Regions from separate parts of the Homo sapiens genome. Here all the other regions are linked to region 2. The links are contacts of gene promoters, found by promoter capture Hi-C in blood cells and fetal thymus (Javierre and others, 2016). All regions are on one chromosome and are shown on one strand. Each heading gives the region's core, a stretch centred on a gene start or on the middle of the fragment in contact. The rest is flanking DNA. Distances are from core to core; before and after follow the strand shown. Region 1 overlaps CRYL1 (crystallin lambda 1). Region 2 holds the start of GJA3 (gap junction protein alpha 3). Region 3 overlaps CRYL1 (crystallin lambda 1).

What was found. Contacts are between HindIII fragments. The CHiCAGO score rates a contact against its expected background, and 5 or more counts as called.
Region 1: a fragment that was not itself captured here is called in contact with the fragment with the promoter of GJA3 in region 2 in 2 of 17 cell types (M2 macrophages and M0 macrophages); the score reaches 5.5 in M2 macrophages.
Region 3: a contact is called between a fragment that was not itself captured here and the fragment with the promoter of GJA3 in region 2, in 2 of 17 cell types (M2 macrophages and M0 macrophages). The highest score is 7.1, in M2 macrophages.

The regions. Positions count from the first base shown.
Region 1 is chr13:20,496,487-20,499,233 of GRCh38, reverse strand. All of the region lies in intron 2 of CRYL1 (crystallin lambda 1), which reads left to right. Among named protein-coding and RNA genes, the nearest start is that of CRYL1, 28 kb to the left of the region's middle. The HindIII fragment of the contact is 5,408 bases long and covers 1-2,747 here.
Region 2 is chr13:20,159,613-20,162,312 of GRCh38, reverse strand. GJA3 (gap junction protein alpha 3) reads left to right here and starts at 1,261. Exons shown (of 2, transcript NM_021954.4): 1 at 1,261-1,423. RefSeq lists silencers at 611-970, 1,201-1,280, 1,441-1,530. The HindIII fragment of the contact is 22,819 bases long and covers 1-2,700 here.
Region 3 is chr13:20,480,503-20,483,202 of GRCh38, reverse strand. All of the region lies in intron 3 of CRYL1 (crystallin lambda 1), which reads left to right. Among named protein-coding and RNA genes, the nearest start is that of CRYL1, 44 kb to the left of the region's middle. The HindIII fragment of the contact is 5,108 bases long and covers 1-2,700 here.

The DNA.
Region 1 (2,747 bases), core at 126-2,625, 340 kb before region 2:
GCTGAGACTACAGGCATGCGCCATCACACCCAGCTAATTTTTGTATTTTTTGGGTAGAGATGGGGTTTTGCCATGTTGTCCAGGCTGGTCTCTTTACTCCTGGGCTCAAGCAATCTACCCATCTTGTCTTCCCAAAGTGTTGCAATTACAGGCAAGAGCCACCATGCCCGGCTTAAATAATTCTAACATAACACATAAGCCTAATATGCCTAATATGTCTCTCTTGGACTTCAGGGAACCTAATAGCTGAAAAAGTTAGTTTAAGGTCAGAGAATTTAGAACTTGATATTTTGCTGTTGGGAAGTCTGTCAAATATCAAAGGTTTTAAGACACTTGATATCACAAAATAGGATCAGAAGTCACTATAAAACAGTCATTCATTTGGCCAAAATTATAATACAAAAACATTTTCTCTTTGATAGGAGACTGAGTTTCCTAAACATTAAGACCTAGTAAAGACAGCATGAGGCCAGCTAAATCTGTCTTTCTCCTTCCCTCTATTTGTTTTCTTCTGTGGTTTTACTGAAAAGGTAAATAAAAATCTCTTATCTCTTACATGAAAATTTTGTTCAAAAGAGAAAACCAAATTTTACCTTTGTATGGTATATTATTAATGTTAATGCTAATTTTAATAAAACATTATAAATAAATCTAATCAGTTTGACCATAAGGTGAGATTTCCATAAACTTTATAACCTTTTATAATTTTATATTAAAGAGCAGATCAATGCTCCAAGAAAACCCTGTTATTCCGACACACGGGCCTAGACACTGGCTTTCCATTAGGCAGTGTGTGTGTAGTGTGTATATGGTGTGTGTAGTGTGTATTGGTGTGCATAGTATGTATGTGGTGTGCGTAGTGTGTGTAAGTGGTGTGTATAGTGTGTGTATGAGGTATGTGCATGTGTGTGTAGTGTGTATATGGAGTGTGTGTAGTGTGTATGGTGGTGTGTGTGTAGTGTGTATATGGGGTGTGTGTAGTGTGTAGGGTGGCATGTATGTAGTGTGTATATGGGGTATGTGTAGTGTGTATGGTGGCGTGTGTATAGTGTGTATATGCGGTGTATGTAGTGTGTATGGTGGTGTATGTGTGGTGTGTATGTACTGTGTATATGGGGTGTGTGTAGTGTGTATGGTGTTGTGTGTATGTGTGGTGTGTGTGTAGTGTGTATAGGGTGTGTGTGTAGTTGTGTGTGTAGCTCTAGAGACAGAACTGTGACCAAAAGCATCAAAAATGTGATAAGTTCAATGCCAAAGTTATCAAAGTAAGACAACTAGTTTTCAATCCATCATTAAAAAATGGTAAATGAAAACATTAGTTTTGGAAATTCAATATGAGTATAAATCCTTATATTGTACTGTGTATATATGGTGTGTGTAGTTGTGTGTATGTGGTGTATGTATGGTGGTGTGTGTGTAGTATGTATATGTGGTGTGTGTAGTTGTGTGTATGGTGGTGTGTGTAGTGTGTATATGAGATGTGTGTGTAGTTGTATGTATGTGGTGTGTGTTTGTGTGGTGTGTGTAGGGCATATATGTGGTGTGTGTAGTTGTGTGTATGTGGAGTGTGGTGTGTAGTGTGTGTATGTGGTGGTGTAGTTGTGTGTATGTGGTATGTATGTAGTTGTGTGTGGTGTGTGTGGTGCATATATATGGTGTGTGTAGTGCCTATATGTGGTGTGTGTAGTTGTGTGTGTGTGGTGTGTGGTGTCTAGTGCGTATATGTGGTGTGTGCTGTGTGTAGTTGTGTGTGTGGTGGTGTGTGTGTAGTGTGTATATGTGGTGTGTGTAGTTGTGTGTATGGTGGTGTGTGTGTAGTTGTGTGTGTGGTGGTGTGTGTGTAGTGTGTATATGCGGTGTGTGTAGTTGTGTGTATGGTGGTGTGTGTGTAGTGTGTGTGGTGGTGTGTGTGTAGTGTGTATATGCGGTGTGTGTAGTTGTGTGTATGGTGGTGTGTGTGTAGTTGTGTGTATGTGGTGTGTGGGCACGCATGGCTCTCGCCTCTCAGGGTGTCCTCTATCTGAAGCCCCTGGTATCTGTAGCACCCCCCAACGGCCTCTTGTGTCTGGCCTATTGTGGTTGGATTTCTTTAGTAGTGGCACCGCTTTCAGTAAACTCTTGTCACCTCCCACTCCTCATTCACACTGTGTCCTCTTTGGTACCTGCAGATTCTGACCTTTTCCACGTCTCTCAGGAGCTATTGCGACTTGCTTTTCGTTGGCATTTTCCTTAACCCCATGCCTAAGTTTTAGCTTTCTCCACCTCATTCAATCATTTACCTGACTACTTTTGCATGATTTCCAATTTTCCAAAAAATTAGCATATTTTGTCCATTTTGTCTCCCAATAATCTCTGACCTTGTGGGCCTACACTTTTTTTTTTTTTTTTTGAGACGGGGTCTTGCTCTGGTGCCCGGGCTGGAGTGCAGTGGCATGATCTCTGCTCACTGCAGCCTCCACCTCGGGGGCTCAAGTGATCCTCCTACCTCAGCCTTTTTGCCATGTTGCCCAGGCTGGTCTCAAACTCCTGAGCACAAGAGATCTGATCTGCCTGCCTCGGCCTCCCAAAGTGTTGGGATTATGGGTGTAAGCCACCACACCAGGCACAGGTCTATGCTTTTAAAAAAAGATCCATTATTAGCCTGGTTTTACTAAGGTTTCTGGAGGGAGCAGAGATAAATAGATGTGCTTTATGTTACTGTGTGTAATTCAAAGTCCAGGACCTAGATTATTGCATGAATTAACGGG
Region 2 (2,700 bases), core at 12-2,511:
TTCCTCCTTGGGATAACTTTAAATTCAGATCTCAGCAGAACAAACGCATTTTTCAGGGCAAGCCAACTGCTAATCCGAGTAGATCTAAACGCTAACGAAGGCAGCCGACGGAAGCTGCTCCATGAAGACACGAAAACTATCAGACTTGCATTTTGCCACATTCCTGGAATAAACTTATTACTCATAAAGGTGATTTTGAAGCCATTTCAGCTTGTGGAATGATCACCGAAATGCAGTCCACCGATATTTGTTAATATCCCAGGCTGGTCAAACCCCACTCCAGACCTTGGGGGACGGGGAGGGGACCCGCGGCCTCTCTAGGCTGTGCCCAGACAGCAGACAAGGACGCGATGCCGCCCTCGGTCCGCGGCCTTCCGCGGTAGGCGTCCCTCTCAAGCGTGGTAAAACCACCCCGAAGGGAACAGAAAACGTTAAAATCTTCGTTGGGCGCCAGCAGGCAGGTTAGGCCTCGCCCTGGCATCTCGTCTCCAGGACCAGATGGAGCGAGTGACCCGCGGGGACACCTTCCCGGTCACCTCGAGCGCAATAAAACAAGTTCTTTTTTTAAAAATAAGCATCCGTGTGCCTGCCGGCTAAATTAAGTGTGTCTGAAGAGAAGCAGGATGGCGGCCGCTATTTATAACCTCCCGCCCCGCCCGGGCGCCACTCCTCGACAGCACCCACGCTGTGCCCGGCGGCGCTTCCGCGGGGACTTCCTGCTCGGTGGTCCCCGCCCCGCCCCGCGCCAGCCGTCCGGAACCCGCGTCCCCAGGCGGCTGCAGGCGGGCGAGACCTAGGTGCCCGACGCCCACGCGCCTCCGACCGTGGGAGCGCCCGGAGAGCAGCTACCTCGCCGGGCCTGCGAAGCCCAGGACAGGCGCGAGCGGGGCGCGGGCTGGCGCATCTGCGTGCGGTGGGCGCCCCGCAAGCGGGTCGGGCCCGCCCCAACAGCCCTCGGCTCTCCTCTCACGTCCCGCGCGGGCATGCCCCGGAGTGCGTAGGCGGCAGGGAAGAGCCCCCGCGTCCACATCCCCAGGGCCCGCGCAGGTGCGGGATGGGGATGCAGGCGCTAGGCATGGACGTGCGCGCGGGGTAGGGTGTGGAATGCGGACGCGGGCGAGTGCTGTGGCTGCGCGTACAGGGTAGGGATGCGGGGGCGGTAGGTGTGCGTGCTGGGAAGCGCGCGGGGCGGGGCTGTTCGGAGGCGGCGGGGGCGTGGCGCGGCGTCCTGAGCTGCAGCTTGGGGGCGTCGGGCGCAGCGCACACTGGGGCTGCAGGGATGGCGATCAGGGCGGGGAGGTCGGGCCCTGGCGCGGGGCGCACGCGTGAAGCAGCACCGCACGTGTGAAAGGAATTCTTTTCAGAGCGGCCGGGAGCCCTGCTCCGGAGGAACGCACCCGGGTCGCCGCCGCGGCAGAGCGGGGTAAGGCGGGCCGGGCGCCCCGGAGGCCAGGCACAGGGGCCGAGGGCAGCGCGGGGCGGGGACGGGCGGGTCGGCGGCGCAGCGGAGCTGCCGGGCGAGCCCAGCGGGCTGAGACTGCCGAGCTGGGAAGCCGAGCCCCGGCACGTGTGCGGCTCCCAGCCCCCTAGGATTCTTTCAGGATTCTTCAAAAAGTTGTGGGGAGCTCGGGAAATTTGTGAGAAACTTTTGGAATAATTGATCTTCCTCCTTTGCTCCTGGAGGTCTGGAGAGCAGCGCCTCGTTTGGCTTCCCTTGATGGACAGTCCAAGGCCGAGTTTAAGTTGTTTTCCTGGGGTTGTTTTCCCCCTCGGGTGGAGGAAGCCGGGCTGTCCCGGACCGTCAGGCTGTAGGGCTCCTAGCGATGCTGAAATGCTTGAAAACTCTAAGCAGATGTCACCGCGCCAGCTAACGGCGCGCACCCAGCCGTCCACGGGCATTCAGCATCGCCGTGCTCCTAAAAGTCCTGTTGGGATTGTTTAGAAACAAGGTTGGCTCGCCTACATTTTTTTCAGAAACTTTTTAAAACTTTTTATTTTTAAGAAACACTGTAGCTATTAATGCCACGACCAGATTTCTCGACCTGTATGTTTGTTATGATGTGTTCAACTATAAGGAATTTGCAGAGGAGTGGAAAAGCACTGTCCGAGCCCCTTCCCGTAGGAGACTTGAGAAAACAAACGGCAGTGACGCGGCTGCATTTGCTTTGTTGCCGACTCCACACTAGTGAGCAAAATTCATCCTACCATGTAGAGTTCTCGGTTCGTGAATATGTGACTGCAACTTTAGAACTCCAGTTTTTATTTTATCAAGATGTCTCCAAAACATGCCATTTAAAAATGATTCTATACAAACAGCTGACAAGCGAATTATGGGTCTCATCACCCAGGAATTAAAAACCATGGTGATTTATGATGTGCGCATCACTTCACTGGCGGTCCATCCATGTGCAAGACAAACATTAAAAGATTAAAGAGGAAAAAAGAGGGATTTATTTTCCGAATATCAGTGTGTTCAAAGTAAACATCAGCTAGTTTGGCACAGATTCCACCTGCTCAGCAGTTTGGTTCATATCGAGATAAGCATCTCATAAGGGCAATGCATGTGTTGCTGTAGTGGAAAGTAATTCACGAAACGGTACTACTCTAACAAATCAGACAGTACTGTTTCTTAACCAGGAACCGTTAACTGGCTGAAAGCTGTCTTAAAAGAATGGCGGGTAACAAAATTTTTTGCCAATA
Region 3 (2,700 bases), core at 124-2,623, 320 kb before region 2:
ATTGTGTTGGGAACACTATAAATCTTCTATTTTGAAATATATAACATTATTAACTCTAATTTCCCTACTGTATTATTGAATGCTAGACCTTGCTCCTTCTAGCGAACTGTATTTTGTACTCATTAACCAGCTTCTCTTCATCGCTCCTTCCCCTTCCTGGTAACTGCCGGCTGCGGGTGTCCACCATTCTACTCTCTACCTCCATGAGACCCACTGCTTTAGCTCCCCTACATGAGTGAGAACATGGGATCTTCGCCTTTCTGTGCCTGGCTTACTTCGCTTAATATAATGATCTCCAATGCCATCTATGTTGCTACAGTTTTCTTATAAAATATGTTGCTGTGGTTTTCTTATAAAAAGAAAATTATTACTATTTAGGGAATTGTTCACAAGCAGGAGGCAGAGTTTGAGGAGACGCGTGTGTGCGTGCGCACACACACGCGCGCACACACACACACACACAGACTGCTTGCCACAATGCTTCAACTAAAAATAATCCCACTGTCGGATCTGCCCAGCCCCAGGGGGCGAAGCCCAGTAATGGGAGTGTGGTTTTCCCCAGTGGATTGTTTTCTACCCAACCCTAGAGGGCGGGGAGCCTGGGTCAGGACGTTTCCTAATACTCTGCTGAAATCCGGGAGCACGCAAGAAAGAAACCTGAATTTCTAGAACTTAGTGCAATTTTGAAATCAAATCTTGCCTGGCAAGAAAACCTACTGTTCTGGAAAAATAAGTTTACTCTGAAAAGCTGGTCTCAAGCCTTGACTTTTAAAGCACATTAAAGCTCATTAGCCACTATGTCGAGGCCTTATCTAATCTCTGGAACTTAAAACCGGAGATCACAGTAGCTGGTGGGAGCCATGGGAATGATTTATAGAGTTACGAAGTTTAAATGGGGTTTCCTTACACAAAGTCAGAACAATCTGCAATAGCTGAAATCGAGAAGTTAAATGGATATTGTCTATGTAGATGATCAGAATTTGCATCTCAACTATATCTTTAAAATGGAGAGAATGCTAATCATTTTGAAAAGGACCTTCAGACACTGTCAGTAATTACAGGAAGTAGCGTTCTTTTGGAAATTTATTTGTTTTCTTAAAGGATTGTTGGACTTTCAGTCTTGGTTCACTGAGACTCAGAATATTTCTTCTTTTGGTAGAGATGGGTGTGGGGGTGGGGGGTTCAGGCAGCATTGGACACATGGGATGGCCAGCCCTGAGAATATTCGGGAATGTGCGAGGAAACTGGAGTTACACTTTTTCTGTTGTATGTGTTTTTTCTTTTTCCTTTCGAGATGGAGTCGCACCTTTGTCACCCAGGCTGGAGTGCAGTGGTGCGATCTTGATTCACTGCAACCTCTGCTTCCCGGGTTAAAGCAATTCTCCTACCTCAGCCTCCCAAGTAGCTGGGATTATAGGCGCCCACCACCATGCCGGGCTAAGTTTTGTATTTTTAGTAGAGACGGGGTTTCATCATGTTGGCCAGGCTGGTCTTGAACTCCTGACCTCAGGTGATCTGCCCGCTTCGGCCTCCCAAAGTGCTGGAATTACAGGAGTGAGCCACCACGCATGGCCATACGTGTTTTTTTCTTTAAAAACTGTAAAATCAGGTTTACAAAGATATAATTTCCATACAAGAAAATTCACTCGTTTCAGGGTTCAGTGCTATGTGTCTGACAGATGCGTACAGTCACGTATGAAATCAGCGTCACAGCTGGGGTTCAGAGCATAGAGCCTCTCCTTCCCTTTGCAGCTAATTTCCTCCCACCGTTCCCCAGGCCTTGCCCACCACTGATCTGTTCTTTGTCCCTATAGTTTTGCCTTCTCCAGAATGTTATGTAAAATGGAATCATACATGATGCAGCCTTTTGAGTTTGGTTTCTTTCACAGAGTAAAATGAATTTGACGTGGCTTGTGTGGTTGTGTTGATTGGTAATTTGTTGCTGAGTGGTATGACATTACTAAGGTGCGTGGGACTCTGGATGGACTGGGGCAAGCCCACCTCACACACTCACGAGATCATCTGGAAGCACGAGCCTTCAGTTTTCACTTGCGAAGTGTGAAAACATTCTGTCCTAATGTTCTACTAGCTTCCTGCCACAGCCCTTACTTTTCTGATGGCTTGCTCTTGCTTTATTCAAATAGTGTGCTTACAGAACTGGGCACGAGGTCTTATTTCTGTGAAGCTGTATTTTTATTTATTTGCTTGGCTTTTTTTTTGTAGTATGTATAGCTTCAAAGATATAATATGAGCAAGTAATGAAAAATGTTATACATTCAAGAGACAGGCAAGTTTTTCTCTTAATCTGTAATTATGTATTTATCTTCTTCTGTGACCAAATAGGACTTGAAAAAATGCTAAGTCAAAACATAAGAAGGACAGTAAAATAAAGTCTTAGAAGAGGAGGGCATCCTCATTGCATTCAGTGTGCCTGCAGGTGAGGACTAAACATGGCCAGCATTGTGGGTCCCCGCAGCATCCACGAACGGCAGGTTATTGGCATGATTTGCGCTGGCAGGCCCTGCAGTGATGGACGAGGCAGTGACCTGCCTGTGTCTCAGACATCGTGGGACCTGCAGGAGCATTAGGAAAGTACTCCACCATGATTTGTTCTCTTTGGCCTCTACCTTGTGGGGTGGAGTATGAAGTTATGTGTGCTGGAGCAGAATGTTAGAAGGCAACAGGCTTTGATCTTTGCCA